Linked DNA regions of Homo sapiens: region 2 is linked to region 1. Evidence: promoter capture Hi-C in human tissues and cell types (Jung and others, 2019). All regions are on one chromosome and are shown on one strand. The core of a region is centred on a gene start or on the middle of the fragment in contact, and the rest is flanking DNA. Distances in the headings are between cores, read along the strand shown.

Region 1 (4,542 bases), core at 889-3,388:
CGTGTGTGTTGGGGGCAGCTTTTTACTAGAGCAGGTCCTACTCTCAGAGATCCAGAGGCTAACACACAGCCCTTTCGAATCCACATGTCAGGCAACTGCTGGGCACAGTGTCTCCACCGCAGGTCCAATCCGCATCACATTTTGACAGTAGGGATTCATTTGCTGCAGGTGAGTATTTGTGATCTGCACAACATGGCCACTTACTGAGGTACTCTGAAAGTGGCCTTTAAAAGGCCTGTTCACAACCTCTCACCCTTGCCGTCACAAAGTCATATTTGTTTGCATTGCCTTATCTGAGGAAAATTCCCTCAATTCCCTTTATAATATTGCTGACCTCCATATGCAACCCAATGTCACATAGATTAAAGGAGGATCAGCCAGGTGAGGTGGCTTAGGCCTGTAATCCCAGCACTTTGGGAGGCTGAGGTGGGGGAACCGCTTGAGGTCAGAAGTTTGAGACCAGCCTGGCCAACATGATGAAATCCCATCTCTACTAAAAATACAAAAATTAGCGGGGCGTGGTAGTGGGTGCCTGTAATCCCAGCTACTCAAGAGGCTGAGGCAGGAGAATTGCTTGAACTTGGTAGGCAGAGGTTGCAGTGAGCCAAGATTGTGCCATTCCACTCCAGCCTGGGTGACAGAGTGAGACTCTGTCTCAAAAAAAAAAAGAAAAAAAAAAAGGATCACGCTAACGGACCTTTCTCAAACAGAACTTTGGGGTTAAAAATTAAGTCACTGGGCGAGCACCTGTAATATGAGAAATTAGTAACTCAAATGCAAGGCAATCTTATGTTCAGACATATGACGTCAGGGGGGAGTGGGGAATCAAGGTTTCCCGGAAGTGGAAGCTTGGAGCTGGCCTTAAAGACCCTAGAACCCTCTGGGATGGGTCATGTACTGTAAGCAGAAGGCACCGGAGATGCAGAAGGCTGTCTCCTGAATACCCCGCTTTTATTCGCATAGCTTCAGGCTAGCTTTGCCCTGTACCATTGGAAGATCTTGGGCACCTCTCTTCCACTCTCAGAGCCTCAATTTCCCTATCTGTGAAATGGAAGTAATAATACATATTTCATAAAGTCTCAAGGGATACAAGAGCATGAAAAATAGAATTGAAAAAAACAGCTCATTTGGAATCGGGTCTTCTTGGGGAAGTCATTGCACTTCCTGGGCCTCAGCGTTCCAGCCTGTGAAATGGAGCTCGAGAAGGGCACAGCTGCACTTCCCACTGAGTGTGGTCCAGGTGCCTGAATGAGGAATGCCTGTTACTGCCTCTGCCAGGAACACTCTACCTATCTCTTCTCATGGCCGACGCCTTCTAGTCCATCAGATGGAGCTTATGTGCCCCCACCCCAGATTCTCCCTATGCCCCCAAACAATGTCATCTCCTCACTCTACTGGGATCTGTTTTATTTTCTTCCTGGCTTTGATTATTATATAATGTGATCGTAATTGCTTGTTATTTCTATCTTCAGCATGCCATCTCCAGGGCAGTGGGGACCTTGTCTGTATCTACCCGGCCCAGCACAGTGCCTGGTGCATAGACTGTGCTCAATAAATATTTTAGTGAATGAGCGAATAAATTAATGAATGTGGGTTCCCTCTTCCCAATCTTTGGACACTGGGTTTCTTCTATTCCTCGGTACCTGGCCTAGGGGATAGAAAAGACTCCACCCAAACCCGGGAACCCTGGGTGTACTGTCTCCAAGCCCTTTACATGGTCCCAGGGGCCCGTCTGCCTCTGTGTAAGTTCCCCCGGGGCCGAAGCACTCTCCAAAGAGGTCTGCCGGGGCTAGGACTCGGCCGGCTGGGGCCCCGCGCCTGGAAGAGGGCCTGGCACACAGTGGGCCTTCTCAAAGTGTTAGAACAAATGGGTGACAGGCCAGCAGACTGCCGATCCTGGCACCCGAGGGCACCCAGCTGCCCTGCGCGCCTTCCCGGCCCGGGCGCGGGAGCGGCGAGGGCGGGAGGCTTGGCTGTGCTTCTCCCGCCGCCTGGTGCAAACTTTCAAAAGATGCGGCGGCCGCGGCCCCGCCCCTGCACTGTTGGAGGCGGTGGGAGGCGGGGGCGGAGCCGGCGGGCCCGGGCCGGTGGCTCCGCCTCCTCCTCCCGCAGGCGCCGCCGCCGCCTCCCTCCCGGCTCCCGCCCCAGCTGCCGCCCGCCGGCTCGCCCGTGCAGCTGCGATGCCCCGGAGCGTCGACCCCGGTCCTGGTCCCTGGCCCGCCGCGTAATTAGCCTCCGCGCGCCCAGAGCGCGCCGCCGCCAACGCCGCGCCCGACGCAGCGATGGGCAACACGGTGCACCGGACCCTGCCAGGTACGCCGGGGAGCCCTGCCCGGGAGGCGGGCGCCGGGCTTCTCTCCTCCGGGGGACCCGCTGGGTGACTCTGGAGAGCTACCCCACGGCCCTTGGAGCCCTCGGCTCGCAGCGGGCTGGAGTCTCCGGTACCTCCCGGACCTCAGCTCGGCGCGCGCCCCGCGGCTGGGCTTTGCGCCCCGGGAGGGCGGGTACCGCGTCCTGGTTACCTTGGGGACCCCAGTCCTCATTCTCCCGGCTTTGGCCAGATGCGCAAAAAGGGCCGCTGGGGCGATGCCGCGCGCCCCCTCGCCTTTGTTCCAGCCCGAGGGCGCTGATGAGCAAACTCAAGGCGACCTGGGTGGGGGTGACTGGAGCCGGGCTCGCCAGGGCTTCCGACGGTCAGAAGCCACCCGTGGTGCCAAGACTGCAGCTGCCGAGAGTGAGGGGTGCTCTCAGGGGCACCCCAGTTTCCAGCCTCCCAGCGCCCCCGCGGCACATGCTGCCGTGCTTTGGCCACGTTCCCACGCGCACCCCGGTTGCGCCCCCCTCTGGTGTCCGCTCCACTGGGGACTCCTTCGCCCCCTCGGAGTCGCTGCTGCAGATCGCATCGCCCCCTAGTTAAAATCGCCCCAGAATTTCTGGGACCGGAGTGAGGGGATCCGGAGCAGGTTAACGGGGTAGGAGGAGGCCTTACTGGAAAATACATGGTAATTGTGGGAACAGATCAGCGGTCCCGCGCCCGCGCGTGCCCGTGGAGGTTCAGTGCCCAGCACTTTGCATACCCCAGCTCGGTATGCAAAGAAGCTTCGCGATAAAGATGTGTATCCCAGTTTTACAAATAAAAAAATTGAGTGTCAGAAGAGGTGAAATGACTCACCCAAGGTCACACAGCTAGTAGTGGGAGAATCTGGAGTGGGACCTGTGTCTCTCTGCCCTCCCTCCCCTCACACGCCCAAGTATTTAGAAGTATTTTGTCTTAAGGCTGGGCCTTTGTAGCATCCTTTGGGCAAAAGGTGAGAGGAGTGTGTGTGTGTCTAAAGCACAAAGGCTCGGCTCAATGGGGAAGCAAGTCAGCTGTGAGGTTAATTTAGTGTGAGGTTCTGGAAGAGGGACATATCACCCCATCTCTGCTATAACACTCCCATATAGCTCTCCCTTCTAGGCATTACATGCTCTTAAAGAATAATTTCCCCTGGAGCGGGTTGAAGTGGACAGTGCTGAGCCCAGGATTCCCAGGGTCAGCTTATGGAAGAGGAGCCAACTCCTACTTTACAAGCCTCTGAGCAACTGCACTCAAACGTTCAAATTCCCAGAGAGCTGTAATCATCAGCAGAGTCACCAGCTAGTCAGTGGCAGAGGTGGGATTAGAACCCAGGTCTGCTTACTGGAGGGTGGCCTCTACCTCCTGTGGACAGGGCTATTGCCAGGTTGGGGGAGAACCCACCCGCGGGTCAGGAGATATCTGGGGATGTTGGCAAATAGGGCAGCAGATATTCTCGCCACATAGACACTGGGATGAGGCACCTCGGCACAGGCCCCTTTCCTTGGTTTCTTAATTTAAAAATGTTTATACTATTCTAGTAAAAAGCCATTCTGCCACCTGTGGGTCAGCCCTGGGGTGCGTAAAGGGACAGACACACGCCAGGCAGGCTAAATATAGCTAGAGATTTATGTATTCTCCATCCCTCTCAACTCTCTCTCTGTGGACTGGGCCACCCTAGTCTGGGAGCCGGCAGTTAAGGTTGGTTACCCACTGCAGTGTCTAAGTATGGGGAATTCAGACTCTTCTCTGGGGATTGAAGCTTGCACTGAGTTTGAGGAAGGGGTCAGAACCGGAATTCCTGAGTCACATCGGGTGGCAGATGCCAAGAATATGAAGGGCCGTTAATTGTTTTCCGACCTACCAGTATGAGTTTCTTGCACACCCTGTGCTGTTTTTTGTACCTCTGTGCTTGGCATGTGATGGTCCCCATGCATGGATTGTCCTTTCTTGTCTAGTCTGCCTTTCAAAATCCAGTTGTCGTTACCTCCTCCAGGAAGCTTTCCCTGACCACCCACAGTCTCATCCTTTGCTCTGCTATCTGGATGCCTGAAGTCCTTTCCTGCTCATCGTTGCAATGACTGCATTGTCACTGCCTGTCTCTGTGACTCTTTGCGGTTCCCTGAGGACAGAGCCCTTGTCTTGATCATCTTGTATCCCTGGTTGCCCATCCCAGAGACTGGTGCCTGGCAAGGGCTCAAAAACTG
Region 2 (4,316 bases), core at 646-3,145, 84 kb before region 1:
TAATACAGCGACCCTAGGAAAACAACTAGGCCTTCCTCTGCCATGCTATTATTACAATGGTGATAATAACAGAATGTGCTGCTGGGGGTTATCAGGAAGATTAAACAGGGTCATGGACGGGAAGCTCTTGGCTGATGCCTGGCACACAGCGGTTTTCAATAAACAGTGGTAATTCCATTTTAGGTGGAATTTGCTTTCTTTCTTTTTTTTGAGATGGAGTCACGCTCTGTCGCCAGGCTGGAGTGCAGTGGCGCGATCTCGGCTCACTGCAACCTCCGCCTCCCAGATTTTCCTGCCTCAGCCTCCCGAGTAGCTGGGACTACAGGCGTGTGCCACCATGCCCAGCTAATTTTTGTATTTTTAGTAGAGACGGGGTTTCAGGCTGGTCTCGTTCTCCTGACCTCATGATCCGCCCGCCTCAGCCTCCCAAAGTGCTGGATTACAGGCATGAGCCACTGCGCCTGGCTGGAATTTGCTTTCAATATTTAGGATATTTAGCTTCCTCTTTAATCATCCAAGTCATCTCACTGTTAAAAAAGAATTTTCTTTTTTGCCTTCTTGCAATGAATCAGAGCCCTGAATGAAGGCAGGGAGAAGGCAAAAAGTATTTCTTTTCAGATCAAGGTTCCCCTTTCCTAGGATGCCTTGGGCTGGGGCGTGACTAATCCTTCTCTAAACAAGTCCATGGCCATGTCCTCTCTTGGGAGAGTGGCTGAGAGCTCAGGCCCTGATGCCAGGTGAGTTTGAATCTGGTTCCAGCTGTGTGGCCATGGGCAAGCCACTTCGCCTCTCTGAGCCTAAGGACAGTATGTACAGCATGGTACTGTTGAGGTGTTATATACAGTGAGATCTACAAAGCTTATCTAGGCACATATTCAGCAGTTGTAAACTATTAGCAACAATTCGTCATTCACTGAATAGATATTTATTGAGCACCTAGAATCTGCCACATGTTGGACTTTACACCACAGACATAGCACTTCATTCAAAAACAGACCCAACAATAAGTAAACAAATACAGACATAGATATGTCAGGGTGCTGAGCACCATGAAGAAACATAAAGCAGGGGAAGGGATAGCGTACGATGGGGGCATGGGTTGGGGTATTTAACTAGGACACTGCAGGAAGTCCTATTGCAAATGGGCTGTTTGAGCAGAGCCCTGAATGAAGGCGGGAGAAGGGAGCCTGTCTGTGATGTCTCCTGACCAGGGTCTGGTGGCGGCAGAGACTGGGACTGCAGCCCCGCATTGGCAGCAGGTCTTCCACGATGGGGTGTTCCTCCCAGCTCCCCCCCTCCCTCCTCCTGCTTCTGCTCCCTTTTGGCAACCCCAAGAGGCTGAGAATGTCCTTGGCCACGCTGCTCCCTGGGGCCAGGGCTGTCTCCCCAAGAAGGAGTCCAGTCTTCCCTGTGGAGCTCATGACAGTATTCCCTGGGAACACAAGCCGCGCAGAGGAGACGCCCCGGGAGTTAACAAAGGCACTGAACTATTTAGCTTAATCTCTGACTTCTCTCTCTTGACCTCTCCTCCAACCAAGTAGATAAATGGCCTCGCTCTGTTCAGTGCTTGGCTCGGGTCACAATAAATCAGCTGGCTGTGTATGCATGCACGCTTACTCTCCCAAGCTGAGGCCAGCCTTCCTGTGATAAACCACCAGTATTTATTCCAGTCTGTCCTGTGTGTGTCCTGGAAACAGAAATAATTTGGGGTTGGGGTGTGTTTTCAGGTTCATGCTCTGCTCTTCTTATCCCACAGAGTTTGACAGAGCTAAGCCAAGCCAGAGTTACGCTGACACACAAAAATGACACAGGCTAAATCACAAACCCTGCAAAGGCTGCTGAGTTTCATCATCCCCGTCCCAAAGGCAAGCCCCTCTTCCCTTGAGTAAGGATACCTAATGTGTGTCAGGGGATTCACCAGATGCAGACAGGAACCAAGCCCCATCCTGCCCTAGAAGAGCCTGCAGGCCGGTGAGGAGGGCAGACAACTTTCACCCAGGACAAAAGTTGCTAAGAGAATAAAGAGACATCACATTTTCTTGAGTACTCACTATGCACCAGGAGTTGTTCCAAGATCCCAATTAGCAGTAACGCATTTAAACCTCAGAGCAGCTCAACATGGTAGAGGTGTGTTCCCATCCACAGCACTGCACTGACACCAGACAGCCTGGGAGGGCTGTGGGAGCCAGACTGGGTATGACTCTGTGGCCTGGGGTCAGATGTCTGCAGCTTCCCAGAGAAGAACACACTTGATTGAGCCTTGTTGGGGTGAAGAAGCACCTGACAAGTGGAAAATAATTCCAGGCAGAAGGACCAGTGTGGGCCAAGAAAGGCACATGTGGTCCTGTGGTGTACTCTCAACCACCCAGGTCCTATTATCGTGCCCATTTTCAGAGATCAGTGAGGTTGAGCAAGTTGCCCAGGGACACACAGGAGACTGTTCAGATTTTCACTCCTGGTCACCAACTACTGGGTCTACTGCCTCCAGACAATGCAGGTCACAGGGGCACATCATATGGGACCTCCTGGAGGGCTCGTTCTCATCTCAGATGTCAGGAGGCACGGCCCAGAACGTGCAGGGCCCTGAGATCTGTGCTCAGCGGCTTGGACTGGAGGCTGAGTAGACCAGTTGTGAGCAGGCTCTGGAGGCTATGGCCCCAGCAGCCCTAGTGGCTTAGCAGGAAGACCACAGCCTGCACCAGCCACTCACTTCCAGACCCCACACCAGAGGCCCCTGAAAGGGGGCAGGATGTGCCTCTGGACTTGCAGACACCCACCCCCCATGACAGTCCTCCAGGGGCCCATCAATCCCCACAGCCTTTCCTTCTTCTTCAAGGGCCTCCGCCCTAGAGAGGGACTTTTTCGTGAGAAAACAGAGGTGCCTTACCCCACCCAGTTCCCCTTCCACACTGGGAAGGCAGGGCTCGGAAGGCAGGGCTCAGACCGCAGGGAGGGATGGAGAAGGGGGAGCTCGGAGGCTGCTGGAATGAACTGGGCTGGGGGTGGGAGGCATTTCTGTAAAGGAGGACTCGAGGCCTCCAGGGGCTGGGGCGGGAGGCAGTCAGGCTGCTCGAGATTCTGGCCACTTGGCGCAGTCATATTTCAGAGCCTCGGCTTCCTCACCTGTAACCTGGGGACAGTGGTCGTTCCTTGAGGCACGCCAGGAGGGGAGAATGAAGCGGAATATGGAAAGGGCCTCCCCTTTAGTAGCTGTTCCCGGCACAAGGAGTTTGGGTGGTGGGTCCCCGGGAGGACCTATTTATTGTTAGTATGAGCCATGACGGCAATCATCTAGCAATGCCTGCTGCGGCACGAGACCAGAATGGCGGACACGGTGGAGAAAGGCAGCCCTGGTTGAACTCAGCCGCACGGGGCTGTTTTCCTTCTGCTGGTGGCTGCGGCTGGGGGGTGGAGGGGGCGGGTGGGGGCTGAGCTCAGCTCTTAGCTGGAGATGTCTCAGCATCTGATGTGACACTGCTGTTGTTTTTGGCTTCACATCCAAGACTCTTTCGCGGCTAATTACTCACTGTCTTGGGAGACTGGCCCAGGAACCTGAGAAAGGAGAGAGGAGAGAGAGTGCCGGTTTCTGTTTTGCAACCAGTTAAGGAGGCAGCAGTGCTGGGACCCATGGACCTGGCTGGAAGGAATAAAGTCTTTTGCACGCTCTCAGCTTTATTGAGATATAATCCACGTACAATAAAATTCACAGTTTGGATAAACCTACTAAAAACCTACAAAACCCACAAAACCAAAAAATCATCACCCCCCCCCATCAAGATTTAGAATCTCTCCAATAACATTTCCTCTTGCCCCATCTGTCAATACCCACTCTGCCCTAACTAATCACTAATCTGCCTTCTGTCACTATGTGTTGGTTTCACCTTTTCTAAAATTTTATATGGATGAAATCACCTAGGATGGACTCTTTGGCATCAGGCTATTTTCATGCCACGAAATGTTTCTGAGATTCACCTACATTGCTGAGTGAATCACAGGTCCATTCCTTTTTTTTTTTTTCTTTCGAGATGGAGTCTTGCTTTGTCGCCCAGTCTGGAGTGCAGTGGCGCGATCTCGACTCACTGCAACCTCCGCCTCCCAGGTTCAAGCAATTCTCCTGCCTCAGCCTCCCGAGTCGCTGGGATTATAGGGACCCACCACCACGCCTGGCTAATTTTTGTATTTTTAGTAGCTGGGATGACAGGCGTGCACCCCTACACGCGGTTAATTTTTGTATTCTTAGTAGAGATAGGGTTTCACCATATTGGCCAGGCTGGTCTCGAACTCCCAACCTCAAGTGATCCACCCCCCCCGGGCCT

Evidence for each region. The method cuts DNA at HindIII sites, captures the fragments that hold promoters and counts their contacts. A contact is called where the count stands out against the background at its distance.
Region 2: a fragment that was not itself captured here is called in contact with the fragment with the promoter of NEURL1B in region 1 in 2 of the 25 tissues and cell types used here (liver and thymus).

What each region holds. Positions count from the first base shown.
Region 1 is chr5:172,639,125-172,643,666 of GRCh38, forward strand. NEURL1B (neuralized E3 ubiquitin protein ligase 1B) reads left to right here and starts at 2,139. Exons shown (of 5, transcript NM_001142651.3): 1 at 2,139-2,313. The coding sequence starts at 2,283. RefSeq lists a silencer at 1,901-2,190. The HindIII fragment of the contact is 6,548 bases long and covers 1-3,598 here.
Region 2 is chr5:172,555,816-172,560,131 of GRCh38, forward strand. It overlaps LINC01944 (long intergenic non-protein coding RNA 1944), which reads right to left and starts at 3,199. Exons shown (of 3, transcript NR_146726.1): 1 at 3,124-3,199; 2 at 2,052-2,280; 3 at 910-1,687. The HindIII fragment of the contact is 4,288 bases long and covers 1-4,039 here.